2 separate regions of the Homo sapiens genome follow, and region 2 is linked to region 1. The links are contacts of gene promoters, found by promoter capture Hi-C in blood cells and fetal thymus (Javierre and others, 2016). All regions are on one chromosome and are shown on one strand. Each heading gives the region's core, a stretch centred on a gene start or on the middle of the fragment in contact. The rest is flanking DNA. Distances are from core to core; before and after follow the strand shown. Region 1 holds the start of RD3 (RD3 regulator of GUCY2D). Region 2 overlaps HHAT (hedgehog acyltransferase).

Region 1 (5,030 bases), core at 2,361-4,860:
CCCACCTAGATGGGAGGAGGGATGGGGAATGAAGTCCCCAGCTGGACAGCTGCTTCCTAGGAACATGTCTACTACATGTTCATGTACTCTGGAGGAGAAATGTGACTCTTGGTGGACAGCTAGCTGTTTCTGCCACAGGCCCTCACATTAGTCCATCAGACTACAGGGCAGAACTGAAAAGCTGTAGCCGGGCGCAGCGGCTCACCCCTGTAATCCCAGCACTTTGGGAAGCTGAGGCGGGTGGATCACCTGAGGTCAGGAGTTCGAGACCAGCCTCAACATGGAGAAACCCCATCTCTACTAAAAATACAAAATTAGCCAGGCGTAGTGGTACATGCCTATACTCCCAGCTACTCGGGAGGCTGAGGCAGGAGAATTGCTTGAACCTGGGAAGTGGAGATTGTGGTGAGCCAAGATCGCACCATTGCACTCCAGCCTGGGCAACAAGAGCAAAACTCTGTCTCAAAAAAAAAAAAAAGAAGAAGAAGAAGCTGTGGTCAGTGAAGTCTATGGAAATGGAGTGTCAAGGTGCAGTCTAGACAGAGTATATAGCCAATAAATGCTTGGTGAATGAATGAATGAATGAGAAGTGCTTTATGCCTCATTCCCAGCTAGCTGGCAGGGAAGGGAGCATTCTCATTTTTCCTGCCGTCAGACACATTGCTTCCTGTACCTGATGTCTGAGTCCATTCAGGCTTCTATTACAGAATACCATAAACTGGTGACTTATAAATGACAGAAATTTATTTCTCACAGCTCTGGAGGCTGGGAAGTCCAAGATCAAGGTGCCAGTAGATTCAGTGTCTGCTGAAAGCCCACTTCCTAGTTGATGGAGGCATCTTCTCACAGTGTCCTCACGTGGTAGAAGGGCCAAAAAGCTCCCTGAGACCATTTCACAAGGGCAGTAATCTCATTCCTGAGGGCTCCCCTCTTACGACCTAATCACATCCGAAAGGTCCCACCTCCTAACCATCACCTTGGGAGATTCAAGATTGAATTTTGGGGAGGACACAACATTCAGTCCGTAGCACCTGGAGAGGAAATGTGACCACAGGAATAGAAAGAGGGATGCCCAGAGAGAAGAGGTCTAAGTAACTGCAAATCTGGTCTGTACCTATGAATATTCTGTCCATTTAATTCAACTTCTTTGGGATTAGGGCTACACAGACCTTCTGCAGGATTTGGAAAACCCAACGCATGACTGAGTGGTTAGAAATGGTTTGAAATAGCCTGGAAAGACTCCAGGGAGGAGAGAACGGAGCGCGCGCGTGCACACACACACACACACACACACACACACACGCAGAGCCGGGGCTTATCTCTAATCTCCATGCGGATTTTAATCCAGCCTTGCATGTAATCGCCTCATAACTCCACATTTCCAATTTATTAATCAAATGCCATCTATGAGGCAATGTTGCGGGCCCCACCGGTGTTTCTGCATTTGATGGTTGCTGAATATCTATGCTTCAGCAACTTCCATCCACGCCAAACAAGAGAAAAACAACCGCCACCTTTTCTCCCCAGAGCAAATTCACACTCAGCAAGGATAATCACAAATCCTCCACAGGTGAACAAATCAGAATAAATGAGGAGTCAACACACCCACCAAGGCCTGTGAGTTACGGTATCAAGGCAGCTGTCAGGGAGGGTCGTGGGTTAGGGAGTGCCTCCCTCTTCTAATCACAGGCACCATTTGAAAAATGCAGGAGAGGGGCCAGCTGCGTCTGCCAGGGAGACTGCTATAAGTCGTCTGTGTGCTTGTTCCCTGGCATCCCAGGGTCAGGAGTCCTGAAGCTCATCTGGCAGCTGCTGCGACAAAATCTTTCTGATGGCTCAAGACATTGGCCTCTATGATCTCATTTACATTCATTGTGTGTGCATTAGAAGGGGAGATATTAATACAAAAGCATGGCTATAGAAAAGGGATGAATTGTTTTTATTCAAACACAGAATGGTCAGTAGCAGACCCAAGGTTGTACTACTTGGAGATAAAAGTCTTTAACTCTGGGCCCTAATGCTGTCCCTGCTCCCCACCTGCCTGCCAGACTTCCACCTCCTCCTCATCTGATCCAGCAATCCAGCACACACAGGCTTGGCTGGGATGTGTGCAGAGAGGAGAGCCAGGCTCAGCCAGCTCCTAGCTTGGTGCCCCTGTAGAATGGTGCTTTAGAAATACGTGCTGCACAGATGAGCATGTGACTTAGTCCATGCCCTCCTCTCCTCATTGCCTCCAGCAACTTTCCTAAAGGGAAGGTAAAGTCTTGTCATCCCCCTGCTCCCTTCCCTACAGTGTGGAAATGCCTGGGAATTTCTGCCCTTGGACCTCCAAGCCACGCCCCTTGGGAAAGTGCCAGGATAGTGGTGGGGTGCTCAGAGGTGGGGACTCCCAGTTACCTGCTTTGGGTGACTCTGGCCTTAGCTGGCCCTGAGGTGGAGGCCGCCTGGGAACTGTGGGTCAGAGGAAGTCAGCTTCAGCTCCCTCAAATGTGGGGATCTTCCATCCCCAAGTGACCCACTCAATCTTTGGGGCTGTCGTGCTGTGAACTGGTCAAGAGAAGTATATGATCCAACTCCTGACTCAAGAATCTTGCCTGCTTGATGGATGAAGAGGGAAGGCGGATGGAACCAGCTGAGTGGAACCAGCCACAGAGCAAGCACGAAGTGACAAATCACCCAGGGACGAAATCATGCAGGCAGGCAGGTGGGCAACCTGAGTCCATTTCATCAGCCATTGTTTAATTTATTCTTGGTTGTACTTTCTGCTTTATTTCCAACACAATCAAAACCAGATGTGTGCAAAAGTCACGCTATCACCCAGCACAGGATTACCTAAGATCTATTATAATGCAGCTTCATGCCCATTACAGTATTCCCATGCCCCTCACAGGGCAGTGTGCATCTGTTTTAGTGCTACCTAATGTCTGTTAGGTGCAAGCTGGCCCACACATGGCTTCTAGGCAGAACAGTCTACAAGTGACAGCGTGACCAGAGAGCAGAGACAGGAAGGAGGCCCAGACATGAGTGTGGGATGCTGCAGAACAGCAACAGGATGCTTCTGCTATCCCCAAATGTTATCTCAAATACCTCAACGTCAATGCTTTCTGTTCCATGTTCCTCTTCTCCCTGGACAGCCCCTCCTTCTGAAAGTCAGAACTGTCTGCTCTTGAGCTTGCCTTGAGGGAAGGAAATAATTTAGATAAGCAGAGAGGAAGACAGGCAAGGGATGTGGTGGGGCAAAGGCGGAGATGTATCTTCACAGGTCCCTGTCCTCAGCACCCAGAATCACCCCTTCCCTGTAGGAGGGAGCTGATAGAAAGAGGGGATCTCCATCCAGGAGCCACCCACCAGGCAGCTGGAAACATTTGCCAACAGCAGGTACACCTAGGGCTCAGCAGAGGGTTGGGTGAGAATGGTCTTGCCCAGTTTGTGCCACACTGAGCACCGGCTGGAGGAGGAAGCGGACAGAATGCCATCTGGACACAAGTGCTCCCTCACTGCCTGGGCCTGGGTCGCCTCAGGCTTTTGTGTCAGATCAGCCACTCCCTCTACAGATAATGCTGCTCCAGGCAAAGAGGCTTAGGTGGGTCTCCAGGGCAACCGCAGCTCAGGAGCTGGCCCGCCTCCATGGTTCATCAGGGAAGCTGTGGCTCCAGCCTCGCGGGATACATACACGCATACACACACACACACACACACACACACACACACACACACACACACCTACACACCCCACAAACAATAGTCCAGGCTGGATCTCTCCTCCTGTCTCTTCTCTTGGTAAAACTTCTCAGAGAACCAAAGAGAGGCAAAATTTGAGGCCAGCCGGCAGCAGCAGAGAAGCTGAGGGAGACTTGAGGATGTAGACTGCCCTGCCCTGCTGTGGCTGCTCAACTTTCTTTTTTTTTCCTGAAAATATCCAGACACTCTCTTCTCCCAGACTGGGAAGCAGAACGCAGGCCCCCTGCTGTGACGCTGCACCTGAGCAGAGGCTGACCTCAGAGGTAAGATGGAGGTCTCCCCAGGAGACAGTGTCTTCCCCACCCGCACCCTGGCACAGCTGCACCTTTGGAAGTTAGGGCTGAGGCTTGAAGCTGGGTGGGGTGGCCTCAAGGGGTGTGGCAGGCTGGGGAGCCTAGAAAGCCGCCCACCTCCGGGACCCAGATGGCCACAGGAAGGCCCCTTTAGTCCTCATCAGTTCCACAGGAGTTGGAACCGATGAGGGTCCTGCAGCTTCCTCGGGGCTATAGCCTGCTCCTTGTTTTGTAAACCTGTGGGAAGCCATTGTTTTTGCCTGTTCTGGAACTGCAAGCCTCTCGGGGAGGACCCAGCTCCAGCAGGTTCCTTTCTGCCTTTATAGAGTGGACACAGGCAGGGGGAAGGAAAGCGAAACCCAAATCAGAGACTCTTGCATGGGTTTGCGAACTGTGATTCGAGCATCTACTAAGTCCAAGGCACAGAGTCAGGCTCTGGGGATGCAGCAGCACCCAGGGCACGAGGGTGATGGATGTGCCTCAGTCCCCTCGAACATGGAGCAGTCTGTGCATCCCTGATAACATGCCCAGGAGAGTGGGCCCAGGCAGATGGGTGCAGGGTGGGGCGCCAGGGAGATCGGGCCTAGAAGGAAAGTCCAGCTGCGACCAAGGGATGAGGGTCAGTCCCCTCCCACTGTGGTCAGTCAGACCTGTGTACACGCCCTCTCCTGGCTGCACCTCTGCCTCAGAATGGGAAGGACTGGCTGCCATTCACTCATTCATTCAGGAACCGCTTATCAAGTGCTACCATGTGCAGCAGATTCAACCCACATTCCTCTCGCCCTTGCAGAATTCATAGCTAGGTGGGGAAGAGATAAATACAACCCAAAGCGTGAGAAACGTGTTTGCTAGATGCCATGGTGATGGGCCCTTGTGTCAGGCCCTGGTGGCTGGGATCAGTGCTCCATGGGTGGGGGGAAGTGAGGGGCCGGCTGCAGGGAGGAGTTGTCTCTTGAGGGGTTCCCGACAAATGAGCAGATGTCTGTCAGGTGGGCA
Region 2 (4,962 bases), core at 1,739-4,238, 1.1 Mb after region 1:
CCCTGCAGCCACAGACCTTGGCAGCTCCAACTTGAACATGTAAAGGGTGTATTCAACAGACAAGTGAGAGAAGGAACCTCACACAGCCTGAGTGGGCCTGAGATAGGCTGAGGGGCCTAAGCTTCAATTGCATAAGCAGGGCTAGGTCACTCCAGTTACCAAAGACAGAAACAGATAGTCCAGAGCCGTCCAGGGGATGCTAGCCACTGCCCAGGAGATGATCAGAGAACACACAACAGAAATCAGAAAATGTAGTACAAGAAGAATTTGCTGATAGGTGCAATCGCCTCAGCAAGGCACAGGAAACTCAACTCAGAAGGCAGTCTGTCTGTCATCCACCAATTCTCTGGGTCAAGTCTGATGTGCACTCATAAAGTAAAAATGCACTGTTATTGTGACTGAGAAAAAAAATAAAGCTAAAAGGTAAGTGCCTATAAAATAAGATTTTACTAATGCAAACAAAAGCCCTAAAGAAGTGAGGTTTGAGCCCAGTGTCCTCCTCTATTAGCACCAACAATGGATAGGTGGTTGAGTCTGTCAAAATGCCTCTGGGTTTACAGAAATGAAAGCTTGGTCTGTGCCCTTCGGGGCTAAACACTTTGTTTTCACTACCTAAATTGAAAGAGCTTCCACTGGGTCACATGAGTAGATAATAAATATGTTCCTGGCCGGGCACAATGGCTTATACCTGTAATCCCAGCACTTTGGGGAGGCCAAGGTGGGCAGATCACATGAAGCCAGGAGTTTGAGGCCAGCCCGGCCAACATGGTGAAACCCCATCTCTACTAAAAATACAAAAATTAACTGGGTATGGTGGCAGGTACCTATATCCCACCCACTCGGTTGACTGAGGCACGAGAATCGCTTGAACCCAGGAGGCGGAGGTTGCAGTGAACCAAGATCGCACCACTGCACTTCAGCCCTGGGTGACAGAGCAAGACTCCGTCTCTACAAATGAATAAATAAATCTGTTCCATCAACTAGGAAGAAGAAAAAGACCTGACTTACCACCACAGGGCCATTGTGGCCATCAGATGAGTTGAGTGATGTGTGCATTCCCTATAAATTGTAGGGCACTCTCCAGATGTTTTTTAGTAAATCATCTGTTTGTTTCTTCTCTCTTTGTTCCTGACCCTCTGGCCCTGTGACATCTGGCACCCCACATGCCCACCTAAACTGGGAGAGATGGTACAGGGCCAGCCCTGGGCAATCTCACAGGGCTAAAACACAGCCAGGAATGATAGGATTGCAGAATGCACCACTAGGGTTCACTTGTAGCAACCCTGTACGGCCACTATGGGGAGCCCCATCACAGTTCTACAATCATCTCTTGTCTGAAAACCAAGGTGTCTACTGGGATCAAGGCAAAGCCAAAGGGGCCTTCTCTGGATTCCCAATGGTAACAGGAAAACACTTACCTTAACTTCTTCCACACCCTGCAGCCTCAGTGTGGAGAGGAGGAGGAGAGAACAGAGCCACGTCAGGAGCTGAGACCGGAACTGGGCCACGCAGAAAGAGATGGTGGTATGGAGCAAAACCATAGCCACACCAGGGGTCCCCAGCACACACCAGCAGGCCCACATCCCATAGAGCATGAGAATCCAGGGTCTGTGCTGCAAATGGTGGGGCCCATCCAGAGAGAGACAGGGAGGAAGAGGGGAGGGAGGAAAATAAACAGAAGTGAGCTCATGGAAGTGATATTGAAGGTTCTACATGTAAGAGGATCACGTTTAATTACCCAATAAAGAAACTCTTATCACTGCCCTGGGAATTTTGGTACAACACAGACAAACAAGATTCAGAGGGACTTTCCACATTAACCCCCAGAGTCCCATCAGCTCCACCCAGAAGCAAGTAACCACTCTCCTGCCTTCAACCAAAGCCACCCAGACCCCTGGGTCACACAACAATAAGATATTGGATTGACTTTTCAACAGACACAATGGAAGCCAGAAGACAGCTGGAAAAATGCCAACTGGACCACATCCCACATACAGCATCCTTCAGAAGTGAAGGTGAGAGAAAGTATTAGTACACATTTCTAGGAAGACCTATTAAGAAAACTGGGCCATCCAAACCACAAAAGACTTTCCAAAGTCTAAGCCAGAGATTTTAAATATGTAGGGTTTTTTTGCATTTTTGATTTTTTGCATATTGATTAGTCAAATTTATGTCATAGAAAAATTGCATCTTACCTGCTTTATGAGCTATTGAGGACTTTGCATAGTCTACCTGATTGATACATTTATTCCCATTTTAGGAGAATCACAGATTTTTATCTAATCATCAACTAATTTATAGTTATCACATTGAATAAGTAGATGAATTAACATGTCTTTGCTTTATGATATAACCTTGGTCAGACCTGATGGGGAAATCCTTAAAAACCACAATGTTTTAACTTTGAGACGCAAGGTATCATTGTGGTTTAATGATTCAAGCTTTGAAGTCTAACTGCCTAAATTCAAATGCTGGTGTCTCATAACTACCTGTGTGACCTGAGGCAAATGACTCCATCTCTGTGGATTCATTTCTTCATATATAAAACTGGGATATCCCAGCACTTTGGGAGGCCGAGGCAGGTGCATCACCTGAGGTCAGGAGTTCAAGACCAGCCTGACCAACATGGCAAAACCCCATCTCTACTAAAAATACAAAAATTAGCCAGGTATGGTAGGTGACTGTAATCCCAACTACCCGGGAGGCTGAGGCAGGAGAATCCCTGGAACTCGGGAGGCAGAGGTTGCTGTGAGCCGAGATCGCACCATTGCACTCCAGCCTGGGCAACAGAGCAAGACTCCATCTCAAAAACAAAACAAAACTGGAATAATAACAATATCTCCTTCATGGGGTGGATACACAGGAAGGACTCTACAAATACAGTTGTTATTCCCATAGGGAAATGTGATGTCTCACGGGCATGCATTTTAAAATGTGGATCCCAGGAACCACCGAATTGAAAAGTGATAAGTGCCTGAACTTAGGTCGTCTTGTGGAAACAAAGACTTTTTTCAGGGCAAGACAGGTGTGGAGTGTAAATTGCAAATCCCGTGCTTTGATGCTAACTCTTTCAAAATATTGCCTACCTACCATTCTTTCCCAAACCTATACTCTAGCTCAAGAGAACATTTTAAATATGAGACTAGATCAGCCATTTTTAAGTTCCAAGAAAACCAGAGAAATGTGAAGTTCATTTTTACTATTTTTCCATCCTACTACCCACAGAAAACAGCCACATAAATTTGCTTCAAACCCTCACCTCTGGGCAGAGTCCAATTATAAGGAATACATGGCCAAAGACTATTTTAAGAGGTAGTTTTAACAAATGAAAAAAAGGGGCTTCTTTTCCAACATGACCTACAGCATTTACCAATGGAATTCTTTTTTGTGCATGTGTGGCTACATACATAGACACAGTTATGTTTTTATTAAGTGCTATTTGATCCCTTTGGAAAAAGCCTGTTTGCTGGGATTCGTTTGGGAACTTACCACAGACTGAAGCTGCTTCAACTTGGAAAATGCTGAAAGAAGCTTCAGGAAATACTTGATAGTGCTGTGTAAACCCCATTTACTTGAGAGACTATGATGAATTTAACAGTGGTCTCCAAAGCCACCTTGGGGCAGAAAAATTTGTCCCATATTCATCCCCCACTGTTTCCCTACTGCCAAACAGTACAGGCAGACGACACTTAATACTGTTCTAAGACATCACAGGACACGCTCTCACATGAGCCTCATGTTCTCTACCCATCTTAATATTACCCATTGATTCTCCCCAAGTACAAGCAACTCTACTATATACATTCATGATGCACAGGCAATGAAAAGATGTGAATAATGCAAAAAGAATCACCTACACGAAACTGTTGTATATATTAGAATCCCACTAAAATGTTGATTTTCATACTTTGTCTATAAAAATGCTATTGGAATGAATCCTATCCCCAAAACACCATTAAAATACTGCAAGAGGAGAATCGCTTGAACCTGGGAGGCAGAGGTTACAGTGAGCCAAGATCGCGCCATTGCGCTCCAGCCTGGGAGACAAGAGTAAAATTCCATCTCAAAATAAGTAACAAACAAACAAGTAAATAAAATCCTGCTAGAGCAGAATCAGCCTCCCATGTCTTGCAATCCAACTGGCATCATGGCAGGGCAGTCCCCATTATAGAGGTAGCCCTTAGGGCACAGCTGCCCAACCACGATCCCTCCCATGCACATACCTAGATCTCAAGCACTATGAAGAGGGTTCTAGGATAAAAGGGTGACATGGCCCAGCAGGGTGGGCAGCAGCATGGACGGCCTGCTTCTTTGGGCAGCAGAAGAGCTTTTTCTAAGCATTTCAAAGGCCAGTTTCATCAGCAAAGGCCTAAAGATAGCCCTGTCCCATCCATCTCTACTCCAAATGTGCTTATGTATTTATCAACCTTTTTTCTCTCTTAAGTAAAAATGCTTAACTATCAGTATTAAGCTTCTGACATCAACCAGGCCAGAATTTTTTTAACTTTTCAAAAAAAAAAAAAATTGTGTTGCATTTTGTTCCAAAACAACACTTCTGACTCATCACTAGAAAGGCTTTCAGATTTTTTTCCCCAAGTTCTCAGGGTAATAAGAGCAGACATACAAGATTTGGTCACACACATACTGTACGTCAAACTCAAGTTTAAAAACCCACCTAAACACCAAAATAGCCCAATTCATTTAAATTACAAGGTTCAAATTATGAAGATGATTGGGAATTACTTGTTACTTGAAAGAAGACAAAGAATCACATTGATCACATAAAGTGTATAGGTAAAACATGGCCTCAATGTTGGATTGTGATGTTTCTGATTTACAGATTCCAGTTGCATACAACTTTTATGTAATGTTCTTTCTCAGATTTTTGAGATAGTTGTATTCACATATACATACAAGAGACATCCCTTGTATACTTTACCCAGTTTCTTCCTATGGCACATT

Evidence for each region. Contacts are between HindIII fragments. The CHiCAGO score rates a contact against its expected background, and 5 or more counts as called.
Region 2: a contact is called between a fragment that was not itself captured here and the fragment with the promoter of RD3 in region 1, in 1 of 17 cell types (total B cells). The highest score is 5.2, in total B cells.

What each region holds. Positions count from the first base shown.
Region 1 is chr1:211,490,742-211,495,771 of GRCh38, reverse strand. It overlaps RD3 (RD3 regulator of GUCY2D), which reads left to right and starts at 3,610. Exons shown (of 3, transcript NM_001164688.2): 1 at 3,610-4,004. The HindIII fragment of the contact is 10,925 bases long and covers 1-5,030 here.
Region 2 is chr1:210,397,119-210,402,080 of GRCh38, reverse strand. It overlaps HHAT (hedgehog acyltransferase), which reads right to left. Exons shown (of 12, transcript NM_018194.6): 5 at 1,419-1,613. Among named protein-coding and RNA genes, the nearest start is that of HHAT, 71 kb to the right of the region's middle. The HindIII fragment of the contact is 1,090 bases long and covers 2,444-3,533 here.